Linked DNA regions of Homo sapiens: regions 1 and 3 are each linked to region 2. The links are contacts of gene promoters, found by promoter capture Hi-C in blood cells and fetal thymus (Javierre and others, 2016). All regions are on one chromosome and are shown on one strand. The core of a region is centred on a gene start or on the middle of the fragment in contact, and the rest is flanking DNA. Distances in the headings are between cores, read along the strand shown. Region 1 overlaps SLC5A4-AS1 (SLC5A4 antisense RNA 1). Region 2 holds the start of RFPL2 (ret finger protein like 2). Region 3 overlaps SLC5A1 (solute carrier family 5 member 1).

Region 1 (3,708 bases), core at 751-3,250, 65 kb before region 2:
TGAGGTGAGGGGCCGCAGATGAACACTCCTGAGTAGCCATAAATGTCCTCGAAGTAGTGGAAACACGCCACGCGGCCCCGGGCCCGACCCTCTCCTCTGTGCGGCCACCTGCTTTCTTCTTGGATGGCTTCGGCTTCTTCTCACGGAAGCTGATGTTGTGAAGGACCTTCTTAAAGTGGACTTTGAGATTGCCCTGGCTGAGCCGAGAGTCGTGGGGGAAGGCCTTGTAGATAAGCAGCTTTTGGTCCACATGCACCAGCAGGTAAGGTGTGCTCTGGCGGCTGCCCAGCACAACCAGCAGCACCTCCTTGACGAGAGAGGCAGCTCCTCCTGGCACATGGCCTCCTCCCTGCGGGCCTCGCCCTGTGTGGTGGGCTCTCCAAAGGAGCTGTCCATGAGGACCCGCTGCCCCACAGGGAAGTTCTTCACCAAGAACACCAGCCGCCAGTCGGGGAGCTGGCAGGTCACCATGGTGCCATTCTCCTGCAACAGCAGGCACCAGTGGATGGGCTCTGTCTGGAAGGGTACAGAGTCCCAGTCGGCAGGGGCTGGCTGCTTCTTCGGGCCACCTCCTTGCTGGGACTGAAGAGGGATCCCAAATCCCCACACAGCATTTCCTCATCACCGACTGTGGGGCTAGTCTCCGAGCCCAGGCTCTCGGCCTCCAAGCCACTGTGGCCCCCTAGCTCATCGTGAGCCCCGCTCAGGCAGCTCTCAGTGGTGAACATGCCACTGAGGTCTCGGTACAGGCACAGCGTGATCACGTTGGGCTGATGGTGCAGCGGGGGCTTGTGCAGCACCAGGTGGTCGTGGCAGCCACTATAGGAGTGTGCTTTTCAGCAGGAACATGGTGACGCGGCCGTCGGCACTCATGATGACCACGCAGGGGTTGCCTACAGTGCACTGCATGTTGCGGGTGACCAGGCCCACAGGGATGAAGTACAACTGATTCATTCCTTCCAGCAGGTGGATGCCCAGCAGCGACACTTGGACAATGTAGTGGTTGTCCCCGATGTTTTCGGCAAAGACCGTGGGGCCCTGCGTGGCAAAGCCACTGGTGTCCAGCTCCATGATCTCCTGCCCCATCTGCGGGAATATGGTTGAGTCTTCCTGGCTCAGAATCAGGAATCACTGTCTGCGGTGGTCATTGTCCGCTTCGGGGGTGCTGGGTTCCTGCTCCGTGCCCTCCCCCTTGGGATTCTCTTTCTCCTCCTTAGGCACCAGGGCGATGACTGTCCACATGTCGTAGCAGCCGGGAAGCTCAAAGGTTGTCACCACCTGGGGCTGGATGCTCTTCTGCAGCACCGACAGAGCCCCATTCTTCCTGTGGCTGGAGCAAACCACAATCTCCAGGTCCGGCTCAGGGTTGTTCTGAAACTCTTCAGACAGGAAGGCAGGCTCACCCATGGCAGCATTGGTGCAGGGTCCAATGTTAAGGATGCTGTCACACACCTCAAAGGTAGGTGGCCAGCTGTGTGCCCGACTGGGCGTCGCTGCCGTACACTTCAATCTCGTCCATGTCGTCCTGTGACACGGATTTGTCCCTGGCTGACCAGCTGGCCATGTGTCCACTCGCTTCTTCTGTGAGGGAGGCTCTTCCTTGTCAGCAGCCTCACAGATAGCACTGGCCGGGGGCTCCTGAAGCTTCTCGGTGTACTTGAGGAGGAGAGAGTTGCCCAGGCAAGAACTCAGGAACAGGTACCCAGGCTCCATGGTGACCATGCTGGTGGTGAGGACGCTGGTGGCCGCCTTGTCAAAAGTGGAACACTCGGACGCTACGCATGCCATCGGTGATGAGGGTCAGCATGTAGATCTGACTGCCCTTGAGGGAGATGACCATCTTGTCATGGGAGATGAAGGTGGCCTGGGCGCAGTCCAGGGGGATTCACACACCCAGCTGGGTGCACAGCGGGAAAGCTGCGGTGCCTGTGGTGAGGCTGCTGAGAGCCACACCGTACGGGGGAATGCTCTGGTTCAGGTATAACAGCGAGCTGACGACAAAGACCACCACCCCACCTATGGGCTTGGGTACGGCCAGAGCCTGGGTGCAGTCAAAGGGTAGCTGGTGAGAGATCAGATGACGGGGTGCACCTTCTGCGTGATGTTAGCAAGATGGCCACGATGGAGCACGTGTCCTGCCACACAGCCACGTGCCCGGGCCAGGTCTGGTTGGGCTCGAACAGGATGGGCTTGTAGTAGCCGTGCAGGAACTGCAGGGCGATGATGATGAGCAGCTTCTCATCCAGGGCCTGCACATCGATGAGGTAGCTTCTACAGGACAGGCCAGCCCACTCCTATGGAATCAAAATACGGATTTTTAAAAGATCTCCAGGTGATTTAATATAAACAAGCTTGAGAAGTTATGTTTTAGGTCAGTGCTACACCCAAAGAAATATGACAGCCACATGTATAATTTTAAATTTTCCTGTAGACATGCTAAAAAAGTAATAAAAAACATGCAGCCGCTCGTGGTGGCTCACGCCTGTAATCCCAGCACTTTGGGAGGCCAGGGTGGGCAGATCACAAGGTGAGGAGTTCGAGACCGCCATGGCCAACATGGCAAAACCCTGTGTTTACTAAAAATATAAAAATTAGCCCGGTGTGGTGGCATGCTCCTGCAGTCCCAGCTACTCAGGAGGCTGAGGCAGAATCGCTTGAACCCAGAAGGCAGAGCGTGCAGTAAGCCGAGATCACACCACTGCACTCAGCCTGGGCGAAAGAGCGAAACTCTGTCTCAAGAGAAAAAATGCAAAAAATACTTTAAATAGTATATTATAAGCCTGTATATCCCAAATTATTATCATTTTCACAGAGGACACTAACCACATTTAAGGGCTCTGCAGCCAATGGCGACTACCACATTAGACAGCACAGGCCTAGAGCACGACCTAACTATTACATTACCTTCAAAATCTCTAGTCATCTCTAGTCTATATTCAACTATGGTTTGGGGGCATAAATATTTCAGGTGCCAGAATTCAGCCTATGCCCATATTTAATGGAGAACATTTTGAATGGCTACTTTCTCAGGGCCATTGATGGGCTGAGAGCAAATTTTACAGATTTCTTACCTTGGAACTTCAGCGTCTTTGGGTTCTGATATAGAATTGTCAGCTGGGGCTCCAGTTCCTTGATTTTAGAATCCATCTTTCCCAGCTGGAAATCGGGCCTGATGTCATTCTTCTGAGTAGCCACAGAGCGAAAGGAGCACATTACACCTTCCTCATGGGGTTCCTTCAGAAGTGAACTGATGCAGCGGATGCAGCAGACACATCCACGACTTAGGTACACGGGTTTTTCAAGATAAGATAGGGAGATGAGACATCGACTCGCTTCTTGAAATTGTTCAGCCGTGACCACTCTCTATGGAAAAATGTACATGCTATTAGAGTGTCATGAGTTGAAGGACAACACTCCTTGGAAATCTTTCCTCCTTATATACATAGAGATATCAGGGCCTACTATGCACAATTACTAGTGAAACATAATGAAACACAATATAAATACATATATAAAAGACTCAGGGCCTTGAGCTTCTGATATTTTAAATGCTAGCTGGAGTGCAGTGGCGCCATCTCGGCTCACTGCAAGCTCCACCTCCTGGGTTTACGCCATTCTCCTGCCTCAGCTTCCCAAGTACCTGGGACTACAGGCGCCCACCACCACGCCTGGCTAATTTTTTGTATTTTTAGTAGAGATGGAGTTTCA
Region 2 (3,900 bases), core at 886-3,385:
CCAGCCTCCAGCATGGAATAAGTGGCTCCTCCTCCTGGCACGGAGCAACTGGGCAGGCAAAGTCAGATAAGCCTAGAACAGGATGCAGAGAGTGGTAGCATTAGAGTCTCACCTTGTCATGCTGGCCACTAGGTGGCAGGGGCCAGTTTTAGCAAAGGCACTCACACCTACCCTCCAAAGCCCAGCCTCCCTTTTTGGCCCAAGTTCACCAGGAACTGGGGCCTGGGGTGGGGACTGGAGACACCACAGTACAGCGTCCGGGCTTCCCACTCGGCACGAATCGCTGGGCCCACCCCTGGCTGCGCTCCTCAGGAAGCAGAAGCAGCAGAAACTCAACCCCAGCCAGCCCTCCCCACCCAAGTGCCGGTACCTCTTCCTGACACCTCCACCCACAGGGCCCTGTCACTCCATGATGTCCGCTACTGTGTGCCCAGGGGTCCCAGACGGTCTCAGCAACACATGGTGAGAGGGCGCGCGCCTGGGAACCACAGCAGGTCTAGGGGCCGGGCCGTGCTCAGGATCCCCGCAGAAATGCTGTGTGCTGGCCAGGAGCAGAAGGAGATGGCCCTCTAGAGACTGGAGTCCCTCTCACCTCCTCTGACCACCGCTGTCACTGACACCTCCGCTGCCCACCACCAGGGGGACGGTGCAGCCCCCGATAGCGCCCCCGACCCTCCCCCACAGCTGGCAGTGTAGCACCAGATGGCAACCCCAACCCGCCCCTGCCTCGGACACTGCAGCACCAATGGCACCCGCAACCCACCCCCTGCCTTGGGCAGCGCAGCCCGGGATAGCGCCCCCAACCCGCTCCCTGCCGTAGGCAGTGGCTGTAGACAGTGTAGCCATGGGTAGCGACCCCAACCAGACCCCTGCCGTGGGCAGTGATGCCCCGATATGGCACCCAAATCGCCCCCTACCCCGGGCAGTGCAACCCTGGATAGTGCCCCTACCTGCTCCCCACCAGGAGAAGCAGCCCAGGATAGCACCCTCAACCCACTTCCTGCCTCCAGGCAGTGCAGCCACAGATAGCACCCAAACTTACTCCCCACCTCGGGCAGTGCGGCCACAGACAGCTCACCTAAACCACCCCCTGCCAAGGGCAGTGTAGCCCCCTATAGTGCACCCAACCTGCCCCTGCTGCAGCCAGTGCAGCCCCAGATAGCACACCCACCCGCTCCCTGCTAGGCAGTACAGACCCCTGATAGCACCCAACCCACCCCTCCACCGCAGGCAGTGTACCCGGCCCTCAATAGCGCCCCCAACCAACGCCCCCACCCCCTCTCCATGGGCAGTCCAGCCCCGGTACCAATCCCAACAACCCCCCGCTACCTGTCTCAGTGTAGCCCCCAGAGAGCGCCCTCAACAACCCCCTCCCCACTGCCAGCAGTGTAGCACCCTATAGTGACCCTAACCCGTCCCCCACCACCAGCATTGCAGCCCCAAATAGTGCCCCCAACCCGCTCCCCACTGTGGGCAGTGCAGCCATGGATAGTGTCCCCAACCAGCTCCCAGATGCAGGCAATGATGCCCTGGATATCACGCCCGCCCCCGTCCCCCACAGGCAGAGTAGCACCGGATAGCAGCACCCACCCTCGCCACCAGCAGTGTTGCACCCACCAGCCCCCCACAACCTGTCCCCAACAAGGGCATCAGGGCATTGCAGCACCTGATAGTTCTACTAACTCACCCCCGCCCCCCGGCCGCGGGCAGTGCATCCCCAGATAGTGCCCCCAAAACTCCCCACTGCCGCAGGAATTACAGCTTCGGATAGCGCCCCAACCCATCTCCAGCCATAGGCTGGATAGCGCCCCCGGATAGCGCCCCCACCCCACTCCCCTCAGCGGGCAGTGACGCCCGAGGTACCACACTCAAGCAGCCCCCCAACACGGGCAGTGACGCCCTGGATAGGGCCCCCAACCCGCCCCCCACGCCACAGGCAGTACGGCCTGGGATAACGAACCTATTCTGCCACCTTTTCACCATTCTGGCTGCGCTGTAGTCACCCTCGCGGCCACCAACCGCAGCAGCGAGGTGAGCCACTGTAGGCTCCAGCCTCCAGCATGCGCGGTAGATGACTCTAGCCTCTGGCATGCGCGGCAAGTGGCTCCTCCTCCTTCTCCTCTAAGCCGGGCACAGAGCAGCTACGCAGGCCGACGCAGATGAGCCTGGAAGGGCAAGCCACCCCTCTTGGCATCCTTTATATACTGAGTTTAATGCAAATGAAGTTTCTCGACTACATAGTCTGATCGGATGAGAGAAACCTCTAGGCCTACTCTGATCGGGCTTTGTTATCTTGTTCTGATTGGTTATCCTAAGACTTGCTGTCATCCAGTCAGAACGTGAAAATAAAGCACAATCAGAGTAGACCTAGAGGTTTTTCTCTCATCCAATCTGAACATGTAGTCCAGAAACCTTACTTGCATAACCTCGGTCTGTGGGGGGAGGGGTTCTTGCCATTCCAGGCACTTCTGCGTCTGCCAGCCCATCTGCTCCATGCCCAGGTTAGAGGAGGAGTCACCTGTCCCACGCTGGAGGCTTGAAAGCCTGCAGCAGCATGGCTCGGCTCGCTGCCGTTGGTGGCGGTGAGGGAGACTAGACCGCAGCCAGAATGTAGAAAGGTGGCGGGGTGGATGAGCTATCCAGGGCTCACTGCCTGCGGCAGGGGGCGGGGAGGGGGACAGGTTGGATGCACGATCTGGAGCTGCACTGCCCGAGGTGGGAGCGGGGGCGGATTGAGGGCGCCATCGTGGGCTACAACCCGGTGGTGGGAGGCGTGTTAGGGGCAGTATTGGGTGCTGCACTGCCTACAGCACGGGAAGGTTGGGTGCTTTACCGGACGTCATTTCCCGCAGCCGCGGGGTGGCTTGCTGGGGGCGCTATCCGTGGCTGCACTGGTCGCGCTGGGGTACGGGTTGGGGGCGCTATCTGGGACATCAGTGCGCATGGCAGGGAACTTGTTGGCTGTGATATCCGAGGCGTCACTGCCCTTGGCTGGGGGCTGGTTGGGGGCTCTATCTATGGGCTACACTGCCTACAGCCAGGAGCGTGTTGGGGCGTTATCGGGGCGGACTGCCAGTGGCGGGGGTGGGGGTGCGGGTTGGGTGCTATCGGGGGGCTTCACTGCCTGGCAGGGAGTGGATTGGGTGCGCTATTTGGGGTTGGACTGCCGGCGGTGGTTGACTCGGTGGGAGGAGAGGGGCAGAGGGAATGGGTTGGATGCACTATCGGGAGCTACACTGCCCGAGGCGAGGGGGAGATGGGGGCGCCATCGTTGGCTACACCGCATGTAGTGGGGGGCGTGTAAGGAGCAGTAGTGCGTGTTGCATTGCTCATGGCGGGGGAGGGTTGGGTGCGTTATCCCGGGCGTCATTTCCCACAGCGGCGGGGGTCAGTGGAGGGGCTTGTTGAGGGCGCTATCCATGGCTGCACTGGTCGCTGAGGGGCAAGGATTGGGGGCGCTACCTGGGACATCAGTGCCATGGTGGGGAACTTGTTGGGTGTGTTATCCGAGGCATCACTCCCCATGGCTGGGGGCTGGTTGGGGGCGCTACCCATGGGCTGCACTGCCCACAGCCAGGAGCGTGTATGGGACATTATCGGGGGCGGACTGCCAGTGGCTGGGTGGGGAGGCGGGTTGGATGCTATGTGGGGTTGCACTGCCCAGCAGGGAGTGAGTTCGGTGCGCTATCTGGGGTTGCACTGCCGGCGGTGGGTGGCAGATTGGGTGCCCTATCGCTACACTGCCGCGGCGAGTACCGGGTTGGCGGCGCTATCCTGGGCTACACCGCCGGTGGCGGGAGGCGTTTTAGGGGCGCTATCTGGTGCTGCACTGCCCGCGCAGGAGTTGGGTTGGGTGACCTACTCCAGGCGTCACTGCCCGAGGCTGGGGGCTGATTTGGG
Region 3 (3,433 bases), core at 689-3,188, 99 kb after region 2:
AAATCTCTAGCCAGTACGGAAGTTCCCTCTACAGAATCCTTGACAGATGTACACATACTGCTCATCCCTGTCCAGACCAACTCAATTAGAAACTCTTCCTTCAAAGCAATCATGATGGTGGTAAATATAGACAATTCTTACAGCAGAGCATAAGAGGCATGGGTTTTCATTTAGAATACTTTTATGTGATGAATCTGAGCTTTAGAACAATGGAATCACTTTCCCAGAGTATTAGGAAGAGAATTGATGATGATTAAATCCCAGTTCTTCCTGATTCCAAATCTCACAGTCTATCTCTGCACTATCTTGCCTCCTTACTCTGAGTTAAAATCGGATGAATTCTTTTCACCCACCAGTGTTAAGTCTGCCTTCTGGCATAAAAATAATCTCTTCTTCCACAATAAGATCTTTTGACACTCAAAATACTCCTAATCCATGTCCCTTTAAAATCTATGATATTCTTACACAGTGTGGAGACATTTTTGGAGGTAGGAGAAGTAGAGGGCATGTTCCTGCCTGCCTGCCCCAGGGAGGCAGGAAGGGGCTGTTTTCAGCACCATGGCCAGCTGCTGTGGCTCCAGGCTCTCTCCAGTATTTGCAGTCACAAGTTTTAGAATTGAAAGGTACTCGAAGATCAAGAGCAGATTGTAACAAAGCTGAGACCTTAGGCACAGCCTCTCCCTCCCTAAGCCTCAATTTACATGTCTATAAAATGAGATGATAAGACCAAATGATCTCTAGGGCTCTTTCCCCAGGTAGGATTCTATGATGTTCCTGATGGCCAGATTGAGAATCTGTTCTGAGCTACACCTGTGCTCTCCTTCAGATGGAGTGATATGAGGCCTCCAGCCCAGCACCAGGTAAAGCACATATGACCTTGAGCCCCCATAGCTCTGCACACCACACACCTCCACAACCATCCTCCACGTGTGCACGTTTCCCACATAGAGAGGAAAAGTTGCAATACTGAAGTAGAAGAAAGTATTAACTTACAGGATAAGTCTCTGGGCACTGACTAAGCGTTATTTCATTGGTCTTCGAGAGAAATTTGATTTTCTGCATTTGATATTGTAAGCCAGTATGACATAAGATCCCAAGGGCTTCTATCCCCTCATCTTGATGTCACTAGAACTGGCCATAGCTTTGGTTCCATCTGCCCTCAGTTCACAGGCTATGTCAGAAGAGCTCCAACTCTTCTCTTATCCCTGGCCATTCCTCAAATCAAGGCAGGGTGGCAAATTCCTCACCCACACTTACTCACTGAGTGCTGTCAAATATGAGGGGTAAGAATCCAATCAAAAATGGTCTAAAGATTTTAATAGACGTTTCTCAAAATATGATATATAAATGGCTAATAGGCACATAAAAATGTGCTCAACATCATCAATCATAGAAATGCAAATCAAAACTACAATGATATATCATCTCATCACAGTTAAAACGGCTTATATCCAAAAGACAGGCAATAACAAATGCTGGTGAGGATGTACACTGTTGGTGGGAATGAAAGTTAGTATGACCAGTATGGAGAACAGTTTGGAGGTTCCTCAAAAAACTAAAAAGACAGCTACCATATAATTCAGTAATCCCACTGCTGGGTATATGCCCAAAAGAAAGGAAATTAGTATATTGAAGAGATATCTGCACTCCTATGTTTGTTGCTGCACTGTTTACAATGGCTAAGATTTGGAAGCAACCTAAGTGTCCATCAACAGATGAATGGATAAAGAAAATGGGTACATATACACAATGGAGTACTATTCAGCCATAAAGAAAGAATGAGACCCTGTCATTTGCAACAACATGGATGGAACTGGAGATCATTATGTTAAGTGAAATAGGCCAGTCACAGTAAGACAAACATCTCATGTTCTCACTTATTTGTGAGATCTAAAAATCAAAACAATTGAACTCATGGACATAGAAAGTAGAAAGATGGTTACCAGAGGCTGGGAAGGGTAGTGGGGGTCTGGGGATGGGGTAGGGATGGTTAATGGGTACAACAAAAAAATAGAAAGAATGACTAACCTACTATTTGATAGCACAACAGGGTGGCTATAGTCAATGAAAACTTAATTGTACATTTTAAAATTAAGAGTGCAAGGCCGGGTGTGGTGGCTTATGCCTGTAATCCCAATACTTTGGGAGGCCAAGGCGGGCAGATCACCTAAGGTCAGGAGTTTGAGACCAGGCTAACCAACATGGAGAAACCCCATCTCTACTAAAAACATACAAAATTAGCCGGGCGTGGTGGTGCATGCCTGTATTCCCAGCTACTCAGGAGGCTGAGGCAGGAGAATCGCTTGAACCCAGGAGGTGGAGGTTGCAGTGAGCCGAGATTGCGCCATTGCACTCCAGCCTAGGCAACAAGAGTGAAACTCGGTCTCAAAAAAAAAAAAAAAAAAAAATTAAGAGTGCAACTGGATTGTTTGCAACTCAAAGGATAAATGCTTGAGGGGGTGGACACCCCATTCTCCATGATGTGCTTGCTTGCAGGCATGATTGCATGCCTGCATCAGAACATCTCACGTACCTCATAAATGTATACACCTACTACGTACTCACAAAAATTTTTTAAATATGAGGGGTGAGGGAGCTTGAATGATTCTGTACCCTTTCTTTCCCTTGAACTCAGAGTTAACTTCCCCAAACCCACTTATCCATCTCATCCCCACCCTACTCCTCACTGCCCTGGAGGGGAGACATCTGAGCTCTGATAAAATTATTTAGGGAAGAACTTCAGTAAAGTCTTGTTGTTGTAGGAGTAACTTTTATGGTTTAGGATCTGCTCTGGGTCATAAGTCACCTATTTCAATGGTCTCCTTAGGGCCTTCTTGGATGTTCTCCTCTTCCGCATCCAGGTCAATACGCTCCTCTTTGCTGTTGCGCAGGCTCCAACACAGACGGTAGAGCTGCAGAGAAGGCAGAACAGGTCAACAGAAAGATCCAAATAGCATCTTGGGACAAGAAGTTGGGGGGGCAAAGAGATATGCATCAAGGAAGGGAAGGGAATGTGGCATCTCAGTACCAGGAAGAACATACACAACGATTCTCATCCATAACATTATCTCTAAAAACATTGGTAACTTAGATAAAAGTAATATACATGTATATACTAGCCTCTATGATATATGCATATTCAGAGCTAAAAGATTGCCTCATATGGAAATGTTTGTTGAATGAACTCTTTTACGTGTGTGTGTGATAAATAATTTGTTCCTTTTAGCACTGGCAGTAGGAAGCAACAAGACAACCATTTGTCCAGGTTAGGAGTGTAAGTTCAGATTTTTGCACTATGTCACATTATGTGGATAAGAAGCTAGAATCATGAGCCATAATAGAATATGGTAGAGCTGAAGGCACAGTTTCTATTGACATAGTCAAGAGCATGAACCAAATACTTGATCTAGAGCATGAACTCGGTCTAGGGCAT

What was found. The method cuts DNA at HindIII sites, captures the fragments that hold promoters and counts their contacts. A CHiCAGO score of 5 or more calls a contact.
Region 1: a contact is called between a fragment that was not itself captured here and the fragment with the promoter of RFPL2 in region 2, in 4 of 17 cell types (M1 macrophages, M0 macrophages, monocytes and 1 more). The highest score is 8.6, in M1 macrophages.
Region 3: a fragment that was not itself captured here is called in contact with the fragment with the promoter of RFPL2 in region 2 in 5 of 17 cell types (total CD4 T cells, naive CD4 T cells, M2 macrophages and 2 more); the score reaches 6.6 in total CD4 T cells.

What each region holds. Positions count from the first base shown.
Region 1 is chr22:32,267,943-32,271,650 of GRCh38, reverse strand. It overlaps SLC5A4-AS1 (SLC5A4 antisense RNA 1), which reads right to left. Exons shown (of 4, transcript NR_149072.1): 3 at 3,072-3,363; 4 at 1-2,294. It also overlaps a transcript of SLC5A4 not described here and the pseudogene CPSF1P1. Among named protein-coding and RNA genes, the nearest start is that of SLC5A4, 14 kb to the right of the region's middle. The HindIII fragment of the contact is 707 bases long and covers 1,647-2,353 here.
Region 2 is chr22:32,203,308-32,207,207 of GRCh38, reverse strand. RFPL2 (ret finger protein like 2) reads left to right here and starts at 2,135. Exons shown (of 5, transcript NM_001394555.1): 1 at 2,135-2,501. It overlaps SLC5A4-AS1 (SLC5A4 antisense RNA 1), which reads right to left and starts at 2,093. Exons shown (of 4, transcript NR_149072.1): 1 at 1,961-2,093; 2 at 1-72. RefSeq lists an enhancer at 1-691. The HindIII fragment of the contact is 11,730 bases long and covers 1-3,900 here.
Region 3 is chr22:32,104,265-32,107,697 of GRCh38, reverse strand. SLC5A1 (solute carrier family 5 member 1) reads right to left here. Exons shown (of 15, transcript NM_000343.4): 14 at 2,807-2,912. It overlaps LOC105373000 (a long non-coding RNA gene), which reads left to right. Exons shown (of 3, transcript XR_938172.3): 3 at 756-841. Among named protein-coding and RNA genes, the nearest start is that of C22orf42, 53 kb to the left of the region's middle. The HindIII fragment of the contact is 4,236 bases long and covers 1-3,433 here.